Regions from separate parts of the Homo sapiens genome. Here region 1 is linked to region 2. Evidence: promoter capture Hi-C in 16 types of primary human blood cells and fetal thymus (Javierre and others, 2016). All regions are on one chromosome and are shown on one strand. The core of a region is centred on a gene start or on the middle of the fragment in contact, and the rest is flanking DNA. Distances in the headings are between cores, read along the strand shown.

Region 1 (5,395 bases), core at 2,692-5,191, 72 kb after region 2:
AAAATCCTCCTAACATTGGGACCAATCTGGAAATGAACTGCCTTTACTGCTCATTATGTAGTAGTGATGTCTTTCTACGTGGCTTCGTTCTTTCTTATCCTTTGGATCCTCTGGAGGTGTCAGTGCAGGGTATTACCAGGGCTTTCTATGAAAGGGCCAGAAATCCAGTTCTAACTGGTGTAAACAGCAACACAATAAATGTGTTGGTTTATATATCCAAGAAGCCCAGGGGTGTTGGCTTCAGGAATAGCAGGCTACAGGTCCTCAAAAATATCAGAAAGCTCCTACTCTCATTTTCATCTCTTCTTTTATCTCTTTTGGCTACACTTTCAAGCTACTTTTCTCCATGTGATAAAAGGCATGGCCACCAACAGTACAAGCATGTCTTGCCTGCTTATTAATACCGGTGGAAAGGGAAGGGCTTCTTTCCCAAGCAGTTCCCAGGAGTGGCTTCCCTTAGTCTAACATGGGTTGTGTGCTCAGCCTGAGCCAATCACTGTGGCCAAGGGCACTGATGTGCTGAGTTGCCACCCGGGAGCCAGAGGGTGCACTAAGAGAGAAGGAGGGGTTCCCCCAAAGGAAACTGGGTACTGTTTCCAGACAAAGGAGAAGTGGTAAATGAACAGCCCAAAACAGCAGATTTTAAAAATTAAAAATAAATAAATAAATAAAAATATGGTGTGAAATGATGTGGCTAGAAAAAAATAAAATAAAATAATATCAGGTGGTCTTAAGCTTTCCTTTCAGGAAAGTTGCTGATAAATCATTCGAGGCAGCCTAAGAAGAATGGATGGATCAATAAATAAACAGATGAAAAAGGGAACAAATATTTATGGGTCACAATATTTTAAGTTACTTGAGAGCCAGAGGGATGCATTTTCCAGGGCCTAGCCCAGGGCTTGGCACGGTATTAGATCCAGGGCAACTAATGCCTGCCATTCACATGGAAGACATGATCAGGAGATAGCTGTTCTCTTCCCTGCTGAGTCCAGACCAGCCTCAGAATCCTTCTCAACACAGCACTCCAGATGAAACTAACTGCCATCCTTTTCAAACGCATCACCTCCCCTCAGAACCTGCCCCAGTCCCCTAGAAAGTGCTCAACAAAAGCTTATTGACATGGACAAGGTATCCACTGTGGTCCACACCCTGTGACAGGCACATTTGAACACCATCAGCTTTCTAATGGAAAGCTATCTGCCGCTGCATCCCTTTCTCTGGCAATCTTACCTTTGCCTAAGCTCTGATAAGTGTTGACAGCATCTGTTTCAAGAGTGGGTTTGCACACGTTTAAAATGGCAACTGTCTCTGTACCCTCAGAGTCCCAGGGAAGACCTTACAGCCATGGTGTGGTGGTACCTGTGCAACAACCAGCTCTCAAAAAAAAAAAGTCCTATTTATAGCATCTGCCAATTTCCATGATATACAGGTTCCTACCGTGGTCAGTTTCAAACTATCAACCTGATCTCGATAAAAGCAGAGTTGAGAAAAGATGCACGTAATTGGCTCTTGAGACCTGACATGAGCTGGCTCCAGCACAACACAGCCTTCAAGTACATTTTGTTTCCCATGTGACTCTAGAACCACATCAGAATTTTCTTCAAGGTTGTTTTACCAACAGTCACTCAAGAACACTTGCTGACAATCCAAGACAGAGACCTAAATTCTCTTCTAGAACTTAGAGCCACTTCTAAAATCAAGATTAATGCTACTTTAGGCTCTAGAGTGAAATGTGCATGAAGAGATGTCACCTGACAGTGTAAAATTTATTCCCAGGTATTGCCTGCCTTCAGCACGCCACTCGGTTCCGCTCTTATTCTGTTGTGCACATTCAATCCACTCATTGACAATAACAACTTTCAAAGCTTTCCCTCAAAATTTTATTACATAAAATGTTTGGCATTTATAAAAATAGTATATGACTAGGCCAGGCATGGTGGCTCAGGCCTGTAATCCCAGCACTTTGTGACACTGACGTGGGTGGATGACTTGAGGTCAGGAGTTTGAGATCAGCCTGGCTAACATGGCAAAATCTTGTCTCTATAAAAAATATAAAAATTAGCCAGGCATGGTGGCCCACGCCTGTAATCCCAGCTACTCAGGAGGCTGAGGCACAAGAATTGCTTGAACCCAGGAGGCGGAGGTTGCACCGAGCCGAGGTTGTGCCACTACACTCTAGCCTGGGCGACAGAGTGACACTCCATCTCAAAAAATAAAATAAAATAAAATAAAAAATAGTATATGACTATTGTGACCCAATTTAATTCTTATCAATCCATGACCAATCTTTCCGTATCTATACTTGACCCACTTTTCACCTCCTATATTACCTTGAAACAAATCCCAAACATCATTTCATCTGTAAAGATTTCACTAAAAAGCAATAATATTTTAATCTGGAAAACTCATATAAACTGAGGTATTTTGCAACTTTTCAGTATAATAAAAAAAGAAAAAAGTAAGCTGAGGTATAATCAACTGAGGAGGAGTAAATTGTCAGCTCTCTCTGACTTCATGGAATTTTTATTTTTATTTTTGAGACAGAGTCTCACTCTGTCACCTAGGCTGGAATGCAGTGGCGTGATTTCTGCTCACTCCAACCTCTGCCTCCTGGTTTCAAGCAACTCTTATGCCTCAGTCTCCCGAGTAGCTGGGATTACAAGCGTGCACCACCACACCTAGTTAATTTTTTTGTATCTTTAGTAGATAAGAGACTTTGACATGTTGGCTAGGCTAGTCTCGAACTCCTGGCCTCAAGCGATCTGCCTGCCTTGGCCAAGGCAGGAGGATTGCTTGATTGAGTCCAGGAATTAGAGACCAGCCTGGGCAACATACGGAGACCCCATCTCAAAAAAAAATTTAAAAATTAGCTGGGTGTGGTGGTGTATGCCTGTGGTCCCAGCTACTTAGGAGGCTGAGGCAGGAGGATCGCTTGGGCCCAGGAAGTTGAGGCTGCGGTGAGCCATGACCACACCACTGCACTCCAGCCTGGGCAACAGAGTGAGACCTTGTCTCAAAATAAAGAAAAAAAAAGGAAAAGAAAATTGGGGATCATTTGCCAACATTTAGCAATTGGGAGATTTTTCTATAAAAATCCTATGGAGGCCAACCCAACAGCTTCTCTCCCCAGCTTTAAGCAGGGCTGATTGGAGACTCAACCCCCTACTCCCTCCCAAGACACCTCTGGCCAATGAGGAATGGATGTTGGTGGGATAAATACTCCAGCTTCCTTGCCCCTCAGGTGGGCTGCTGTGAAGCATGTCCCTGCCATCTCCCAAGGCCCCTACAGTGTTGAGTTCTGCTTGTCCACGGTGCTAACTACCCATCAATACTCTGAACAGGTTTGTCTCCCTTCCCCGCTCCCCAGGGGGGCTTCCAGAAATGCGTTTCCAAACAATCTTCTGAACTCCATCTTTCTCTACTTCTGGGAGAATTCAACCCAAGATCTGGTCCACCAGCTCTCAGCCCAAGTCCTCCCAGTTACCAGCTCTACCCCCGGCGGGGCATGTTCATCCGGAGTGCTGCTGTGACCCAGTCATTGTGCAAGGGCGCCGTGCTGCAAAGATCAAAGAAGCCTCTGCATTCTGGAAAATATTGGGTCAAATAGCATGTCATTTTAGAAAAGCTCTCAAGTATGGCATTTCCTGAGCACTGCAATTACAGCCTCTTTCTATGTTGGCTTTAAATGCCCGTGTAAGCAGCTATTTACTCTCTGGCTCGGGGCACCACTAAAGGGCTCTTGCTCGCTCTAAATATATCATGACAAACTCATAACCCTCAGGCTGCCCGAATGTACATTTGTGAGAGTCGGCCACCGTGCTTGTGGTTGAGTGCGTCCACATACAACCGTGCCCTGAGTGCAGTTCAAAGCTAAGCAGAGCCTCTTCCCTACTTTCCCCTTCGCCGCTCCCCTCCCCAGGAGAAGCCATGAGGAATTTCTCTGAAGAGAAAAAAGCGACAGGACTTTGAGATTCACTGTTAGACTGGCTCCAAGGGCAGGAGCTTCCTAGAGTTTAACAATAGGCCTGGCACTTAAAATATGTGCCAATAAATATTTGTCAAATTCTGAACCACGTTGGTGGCTTGCTTTCCCTCCCTCCCTTCCTCCTCCCTTTTCTTTCTTTTTTTTTCTTTCCCTTCCTTCCTTCTTTTTCTCTTTCTTCCTTCCTGTCTTTCTTCCCTTCTCTTTGCCTTCCCTCCTTCCTTCCTTTCTTTCCCTCCTTTCAAAAGTATACACATGTCATTGCTTGTAATAGACAAAAAACTGGATTCAACCTTCGTGCCGATGGACAATAGCAGGTTAAGTCCTGTACATCCACCTAATGGAATATTCTGTGGCCTTTTCAAAGAGAGCTCTTTATGCTCTGAGGTGGAGGTGCCTCCCAGACATATTGTTAAGTGAAAGAAGTCACATGCTGAAGAGCATGTATGGTGTGTTATCACCTGTGAAAAAAGAAAAAAATGCTTATAAATGCATGAAATACCTCAGGAAAGCTAAAAAAGAAACTAACAAAGGTTGCTTCTGGAGAGGAGAAGTGGAATGTAGGGGTTCGAGGTGAGAAAGAAACCTCACTTTGTGTATTTTATTGATTGTATGTATGTATTTTTCAAATGCAATATCAATAAAAAGAAAGATAAAAGAGCCTGCTTTCCAGTCTGAATGCACTCCCTGGGGTGTGCATTTTCACAGTGGGTTTTGGAATCCTGTGTGCGCCCCCAGCAAAGTGCCTGCCTCAGAATACATAACAGATAGGTCCGTCTTGAGGGAAGCAGGTGGAGTTCTCACCAGTGGTTCCCATCTACCAAAGTCAGGCTGGCAACTTGACCTTCTTTAGGCAGAAACATCACAAATTAGAAGAAAGCATTCTCACAAGAGCACAGTGGACACACTTCATTCACTCTGGACGCATCTGCTGAGCACCGACTGTTTGCCGCACAGTGTTCCAGGCTCTGGGGTATGGCAGAGCAAGACGGATAATAACCCTGCCCTTCCTGCCTTCTAGCTTGCCTTCTAGCTGGAGGAGGAGGGGGCAATCAACAAGTTAAGTAAATAGATGGAGGCCGGGCACGGTGGCTCACGCCTGTAATCCCAGCACTTTGGGAGGCCAAGGCAGGTGGATGTCTTGAGCCCAGGAGTTCAAGACCGGCCTGGGCAACATGGCAAAACCCCATCTCTACAAAAAATACAAAACATAGCTGGGCGTGATGGTGGGCACCTGTAGTCCTAGCCACTCAGGAGGCTGAGGTGGGAGGATCACCTGAGCCTGGGAGGTCCAGGCTGCAGTGAGCCATGATCATGCCACTGCATGCCAGCCTGGGTGACAGAGTGAGACCCTGTCTCAAGTAAATAAATAAATAAGTAGATGGAGTATGTTAAATCTAGGTAAGGGCTCAG
Region 2 (6,184 bases), core at 725-3,224:
GTCAGGAGTTTGAGACCAGCCTGGCCAAAAAAGTGAAACCCCATCTCTACTAAAAATACAAAAAAATTAGCTGGGAGTGGTGGTGGGTGCCTGTAAATCCCAGTTACTTTGGAGGTTGAGGCAGGAGAATTGCTTGAACCCGGGAGGCGGAGGTTGCAGTGAGCCGAGATCACGCCATCGCATTCCAACCTGGGCAACAAGAGTGAGACTCCATCTCAAAAATAAAAAATAATAATAAAAAAAAAAGGTGTGTGGTACCTCCCTTGCCTTGTTCCCACTCTTGCCATGTGATACACTGGCTCCCTGTTTACCTTCAGACATAATTGTCAGCTCCTTAAGGCCTCACTGGAAGCAAAGCAGGTGCTGGCACCGTGCTTCCTGAACAGCCTGCAGAACTGTGAGCCAATTAAACCTCTTTTCTGTGGAAATTACCCAGCCTCAGATATTTCTTTATAGGAAGAGAATGGCCTAGCATAGGCACCTACGGGTGGGTCCTGTGGGTCCTCTGGGACATGGAACAGGACATGACTCCAGGTTATTCCACCTGAGCAGGGAGGGAGCTGGGTTATTTATCTACCAACTGATAATAGTCATTGAATGAGGACATTCTGCAACTTGCAGCTGCCCGCTTGTAGGCAGGGTGGACTCCAGCAGCTGGCAAAAGCCCCCAAGCAAAGATACGCAGGTACTGGCAGCTGGGAGTCAGATTACCTTTGTACAATGAAGTTGTAAGGCCAAGAGGCTATGGGCAGGGCACTGACAACGTCAGTTGTGCTTCCCCAAAACGTGGCTCAGTTCTGGCAATGAATAGATCCTCAGTAAAGCGTGCTGGTTGAACCCAGAGAGCTCAGCCAGCTTTGGCCCCAAAGCTACAGCTCCTGTTTATTCTCCAGCAACCCCTGAATACTGCCATCAGCTGGCAATACTATTTCAGGATCAAACCTAAGATACCAGCACCCTTACATGTTCTTAAAGTGTGTAGTCTCAGAGCAAGCAGCCTCAACGTCATGTGGGAACGTGTAAGAAATGTGAATTATTGGGTTCTCCCCCAGACCTAATGAGTCAGAAACTTTGAGAGTGGGGCCCAGGAATCTGTATTTTAACGAGTCTTCCAGGTCATTCTAATGCAACCTACAGTTTAAGACCCACTGTTTTGGACTCTAAAATTTAGGGCCACCCAACAGTTTCCAAAGCGAAGCCGTTTGCTCTTGGTTAGAACTCCTCCATCCCCAATCCCAAGCACCAGCAGCAAAAGGGAATGGAATCTCTGGAAACATTTTATACTTTGCCCCCTTTTTTGAGTTTTTCTTTTCTTTTTAGGCTTAGTAAATATACATTGTACCAAGTTATCAATTACCAACAATGGAAAGTAGCCCAGGCATATATGCTATAGAGGATAACCTAAAAGACACCTGTGTTGAATTTAACTTGAAGGTGGGAGGATTTATATTTCTGCTTGTTTTCCTGAGCTAATATTTAAGTTACTTCTCTTTCCTTGAGTCCCTACCAGGTGGGCAGTAGGGGGAAAGTCACGGGTATACTGGTAGAAGAAAAAGCTGCCCTGGAATTTCAAGTCCATCACAGAAGATGTGCAAGGAGCTGGGGGTACCCACGGAAGTCACTTTGTGCAGGAAAACTGCATGAAGGATGGACTTGGTTTAACTGAATTGACGCAGGCCAGGTGAGAATAGGAACCGTGGCAGCAAGTGGCAGCAGGTGGATTCATAAGCAGTCTTCCAGGCTGATGTTTTCTGTACAGCAGACATCCCTCACTCTTTCCCAGCAACCCCAGCTGAGAACAGCACCCAGACAGGCTGATTTCTTCTGGAGAGGCCTGAGGCTCTTGCTCCTGCCCTGCCCTGTGCCCTGATGCCAGCAGCCACTGCAGCCCTTTTTGTGCTCACCCCCGACCTGTGGTGTGACATCACAATGTAGTCCATTCAGGATCTTGAGACTGATTTGCCCCATGGGCCTAAGACATAAGCTGAACCTCTGGCCTGCAGTTCCAGATCCAAGGTGACTGAGACAAACTGCCAGCTGCCACTGGCTTATCAGGAGCACCTGGTGAGTATTCAGAACTTTCCCAAGCAGCATGGAAGGAGATACAGCCAACAGCTGGCTGTCTTAGCACTTTAAGGTCTCATTCTCACACAGGTTTAGATGAGCCAAACCGGTGGACAGGAGTTCACCAGGTAAGCCCCAAACTCTTCCTAGGAAAGCTGACTCACCTGATGCACACACCCCTTCCCAGCCTCTTCCTGCTGTGTCACCATCTGCGGGAGGTGGTACTCTAGTCTCCCCTAAGACTCGGCTTGCCACCTGCACCAGCTCCCTGGGCAAAGGTCACCTGTGTTCTTAATAGAGCAGAGAGGCCAGGCTTTCAGATGGCAAATTCACTAGAGCATCACTTCTAGCCCTAATTGAGGTCAGGGACAGCCATTGGCCAAATGACACACCACATAGCAGGATGAGCAGAGGTAGCTGACACAGCCACCTCCCGTCCAAAATGTGAACGACGGTCCTTCCTTTCTGTAAGAGGCCTTCCTGCTTTGGCTGTTTTTAAATCCACCTCCTGGTGACCTGCTGGTATATCAAATCACTTCCTTTCCTTTTGGGACAGTAAGAGAGCTTTAGGATCGTGACGGGAAATAAGGAGATGGATTAGAACACCAGGAAAGTGGGCAAAATCTAAGGTAGCGGGGACAGGGACAGAGGCCAAAGCCATCTCTCAAAGAGGATGCTGGCTCTTTCCATATGGGCCACCTGCACTCGGCTGAGGGTGGTTTGAGACTCAAGGCCTTCTATAACAAACAGTAGGGACCCGTTCTGGGCCCCAGGAGGCACAGCTGCCTTCCCTACCATGGCCCATTCGTGTTTTCCCACAGTCTGTCTACGGTCCATTCACCATCTGTGAGTGCCAACACGTCCACACAGCTGCAGCTGCGTCCCTTCTCCCACAAAGGAGTGGCTTCTATAGGGACCCCATGATTTTAAGAAGGCTCCTGGCTCTCCTTGACTGTGTAAGGTAGAAAGGGAGGTGGTGGGGGGTGGATCAGAGAAATATTTTACCCTTAGGCTTTGCCATCCCTCCTTAGTTTTATATGTGATGGGCTGAAGCCAACCTCTGCTTCACACACAAATCCAAGACGCCAATGGTTCACCAAGCATGCTAAGAACATTTTAGCCTATGTTAGGCCCCACTGGAAAAGGAAAAAAGACAGTAGAGGGGCCGGCGCTAGAGCAACCTGTGGTCCCCGTCCTGCAGCAGGTTTAATTTGGAGAGGAGAAAGGGAGCAAACGCTGAACCTCCCGTGCCAGACCCACCAGCTATGTTATTGCTCTTAATTCCGACCTCTGTGAAGCAGGTGTTCTCAGGTTCATTCTACAGACATAGAAACTGAAGACTGTTCTGTGCTGGTGCCACGTCTAAAGAGGGTCATTAACCTGGAGCATGCCTTCACTCTCTATCGACTATCCCCAACATTAGAGCTCTCTGAAAAGAGAATGGGCTGCTTTGCAAGGCAGCAAGAGTGTGCAGGCCACGGCTCTTCCATCAGCATGGAAGGGAACGGGATTCTTGTGATCAGCTGGGAGCTGGACCAAAAGACCTTTAAAGGCTGTTTCCAAATCCAAGATTGTAGGTTTCTGGGTGTTAGTACTTTGCCCACCCTCTGCGATTGAACTCAGGTGGGTCACGCCTTAAGGACGGCTGCAAACTTTCTGTTAGGCAAGGAGAACTGGGAAGAACCATAGAGATCAGCTACGGGCCCCAGGTAGGAAAGAGGAACCCAGGCTGGTTGAGGGAGTTTTCCAAGGCTCCAGAGCCAATTTGCAGAGTTAACCTGTGTTGACTGAACAAATGGAGGAGCCAGTTCTGAGTGCTGATCAAACGTTCCCATGCCCATCTCTCTCATTCACCTGGTTCTTTCCTATCAAGATTATGATTCAGCCACCATTTACAAAATGCCTGCTGCATGCCAAGTGTGTTTCCAGAGATTATTCCACCTACTCCTCCCCAGCTCCATGAGGTGGGTGTCATCAGCCCCGTTTCTCAGATGAGCATGGTTAGGTAACCACCCCAGAGGATCAGGTACTTGTGGAGATGTCATAAATACTAAATGACGAAGCAGGTCTTTCTAACCCCAAGGAAAACTTATGTCTCCATCTGCCGCCTCCCAGCTTGTGTGAGGAAGCAGGGTCTCCTTTCTTAGCCTTTCCCTAAGGCAAACTGCCATCGATGTGCCAAGTTCCACAGTGCCTATTTCCAGCTCCTCTTGGACGTTGCCCTGATGGATGCTGAACTCCCTGTGGGCCCGCCTGTTTCACTGGCCCGGCCCCTCACTCTGATGGGGCAAGATGGAGCGATGTCTATACACGGACAGATGTTATGCACCAAGGAAGAAAATCTGCTAATCGAAAGCAGCTTCAGCTAATTGTGGCACTCTCCCTTCTGCGTGGTGCCCTGAAATAGTAGCCATGCTCTGTTCTTTTTTCACATCAGGGAGCCCCAACTGGCAACTTAAATGAGGTTGCAAAGAAGTCAGTTACACAGACCTCTGCTGCCAGTTTCCATGGATGAGGCCTTGCTGATGCTCCTTGGATAGGACCCGTGTGCAACTGTTTGTGGACTTGGCTTCTTGCTGTGGATAATTTGGACCCACTGTTGGGCTGGAAAAGCCTCATTTAACCCTGGGGAAAACTGGAACCTTCAGAAATTTAATGGAATACTAAGCCCAAGAACACATGGTCTGACCTTGAACCCTGGTTCTGATCTGCTTCTGAGTTATTCTATAGCCATCTCAGCCAACAGAACCGTCACGGGAATATTCTGTCTCTGTGTTGTCTCATATGATAGCCACTAGGCACACAGGGCCACTGGGCACTTGGGATGTGGCCAGTGGGACTGAGGAGCTGCGCTTGTTGTTTAAATGGAAGCTTAGATTACATAGCCATCGGTGGCTGGTGGCGGTGTGCTAGACGCTGCTGCTCTGGGCCCTGCTGACTTTTGTGACTTCATCTCTGATCTCATTCCCCTCTCCTGGCTTTCCCTTTCCCTCTGCCTTCACTCCCAGACCTCCTGTGCTTTTTGATTTTTGCATTTGCTGTTCTCTCTGCCGGCATCACTTTTTCCTCTGATCATTTTATGGTTTGCCCCTGTTCAACAGGAGGGCCTCAGATCAAGTGTGTGTCTTCAGAAAGATCTTCCCTATTCTACCTAATTGTGTCCCCAGCCCCATTCCAATTGCTCCTTATCTCTCTGAAGTTACGTTTGTGTGTTTTCTTGTCTACTGCCCTATCCCTGGATAAAAATCCCAGTTTCACCAGAGCAGGGATGCAGTCTGCCCTCTCCCACTCCATCTCTGTGCCTGGAACAGCGCCTGAGAGGCAGAAAGTGCTCAGTATGGTGCTTACAGTGTGTGAACATTCTGCAGGACAGCCCCCTCCTTCAGTGAGGAGGAAAGGCGGTCATGGCCCCAGTAACTTCTGCTGTGTGACAAAATAACATGAGCACAGCGGCCTAGAACAGCAAAGATTCGTATTTCTTCCAATTCTCTGGGTCTGGAATGTGAGCAGGACTCAGTTCCACATTGTGTCACTGAGGGTCACTCAGCTGGGGGCTAGGCTGGACAGGGTGGCCCAAGAAGGCCTCACTCACACAGCTGGGACTTTTGGGCTCTCCAAGAAACATCTCTATGCGGTTTGTCTGGGTTTTCTTACAGCATGGAGGTCTCAGGGCAAGTAGGCTGACTTTTTTTTTTTTTTTTTTTTTGACAGTGTCTTGCTCTGTTGCCCAGGCTGGAGTGCAGTGGTGTGATCTTGGCTCACTGCAACCTCCGCCTCCCAATCCTGGGTTCAAGCGATTCTCCTGCCTCAGCCTCCTGAGTAGCTGGGATTGCAGGTGCCTGCCACAATGCCCAGCTAATTTTTGTGTTTTTAGTAGAGATGGGATTTCACCATGTTGGCCAGGCTGATCTCAAACTCCTGACCTCAGGCCTCTGCCTCGGCCTCACAAAGTGCTGGGATTACAGGTGTGAACCACTGTCCCCAGCTGGCTTCTGAGAGAGGAAGCAGAGGCTGCCAGGCCCAGAACTGGCAGCACCATTTTTATCACCTTCTACCGGGCTAACTAAGCCATAGGGCGAGAGCCCAGATAAAAGGGGAGGGGAAACTGTCCACTTCCTGG

The links. Contacts are between HindIII fragments. The CHiCAGO score rates a contact against its expected background, and 5 or more counts as called.
Region 1: a contact is called between a fragment that was not itself captured here and the fragment with the promoter of BANF2 in region 2, in 1 of 17 cell types (M1 macrophages). The highest score is 5.5, in M1 macrophages.

What each region holds. Positions count from the first base shown.
Region 1 is chr20:17,767,953-17,773,347 of GRCh38, forward strand. No RefSeq gene overlaps it. Among named protein-coding and RNA genes, the nearest start is that of BANF2, 71 kb to the left of the region's middle. The HindIII fragment of the contact is 4,157 bases long and covers 1,864-5,395 here.
Region 2 is chr20:17,697,992-17,704,175 of GRCh38, forward strand. BANF2 (BANF family member 2) reads left to right here and starts at 1,975. Exons shown (of 4, transcript NM_178477.5): 1 at 1,975-2,064. LOC105372547 (a long non-coding RNA gene) reads right to left here and starts at 1,868. Exons shown (of 2, transcript XR_937294.2): 1 at 1,508-1,868; 2 at 1-189. The HindIII fragment of the contact is 11,340 bases long and covers 1-4,933 here.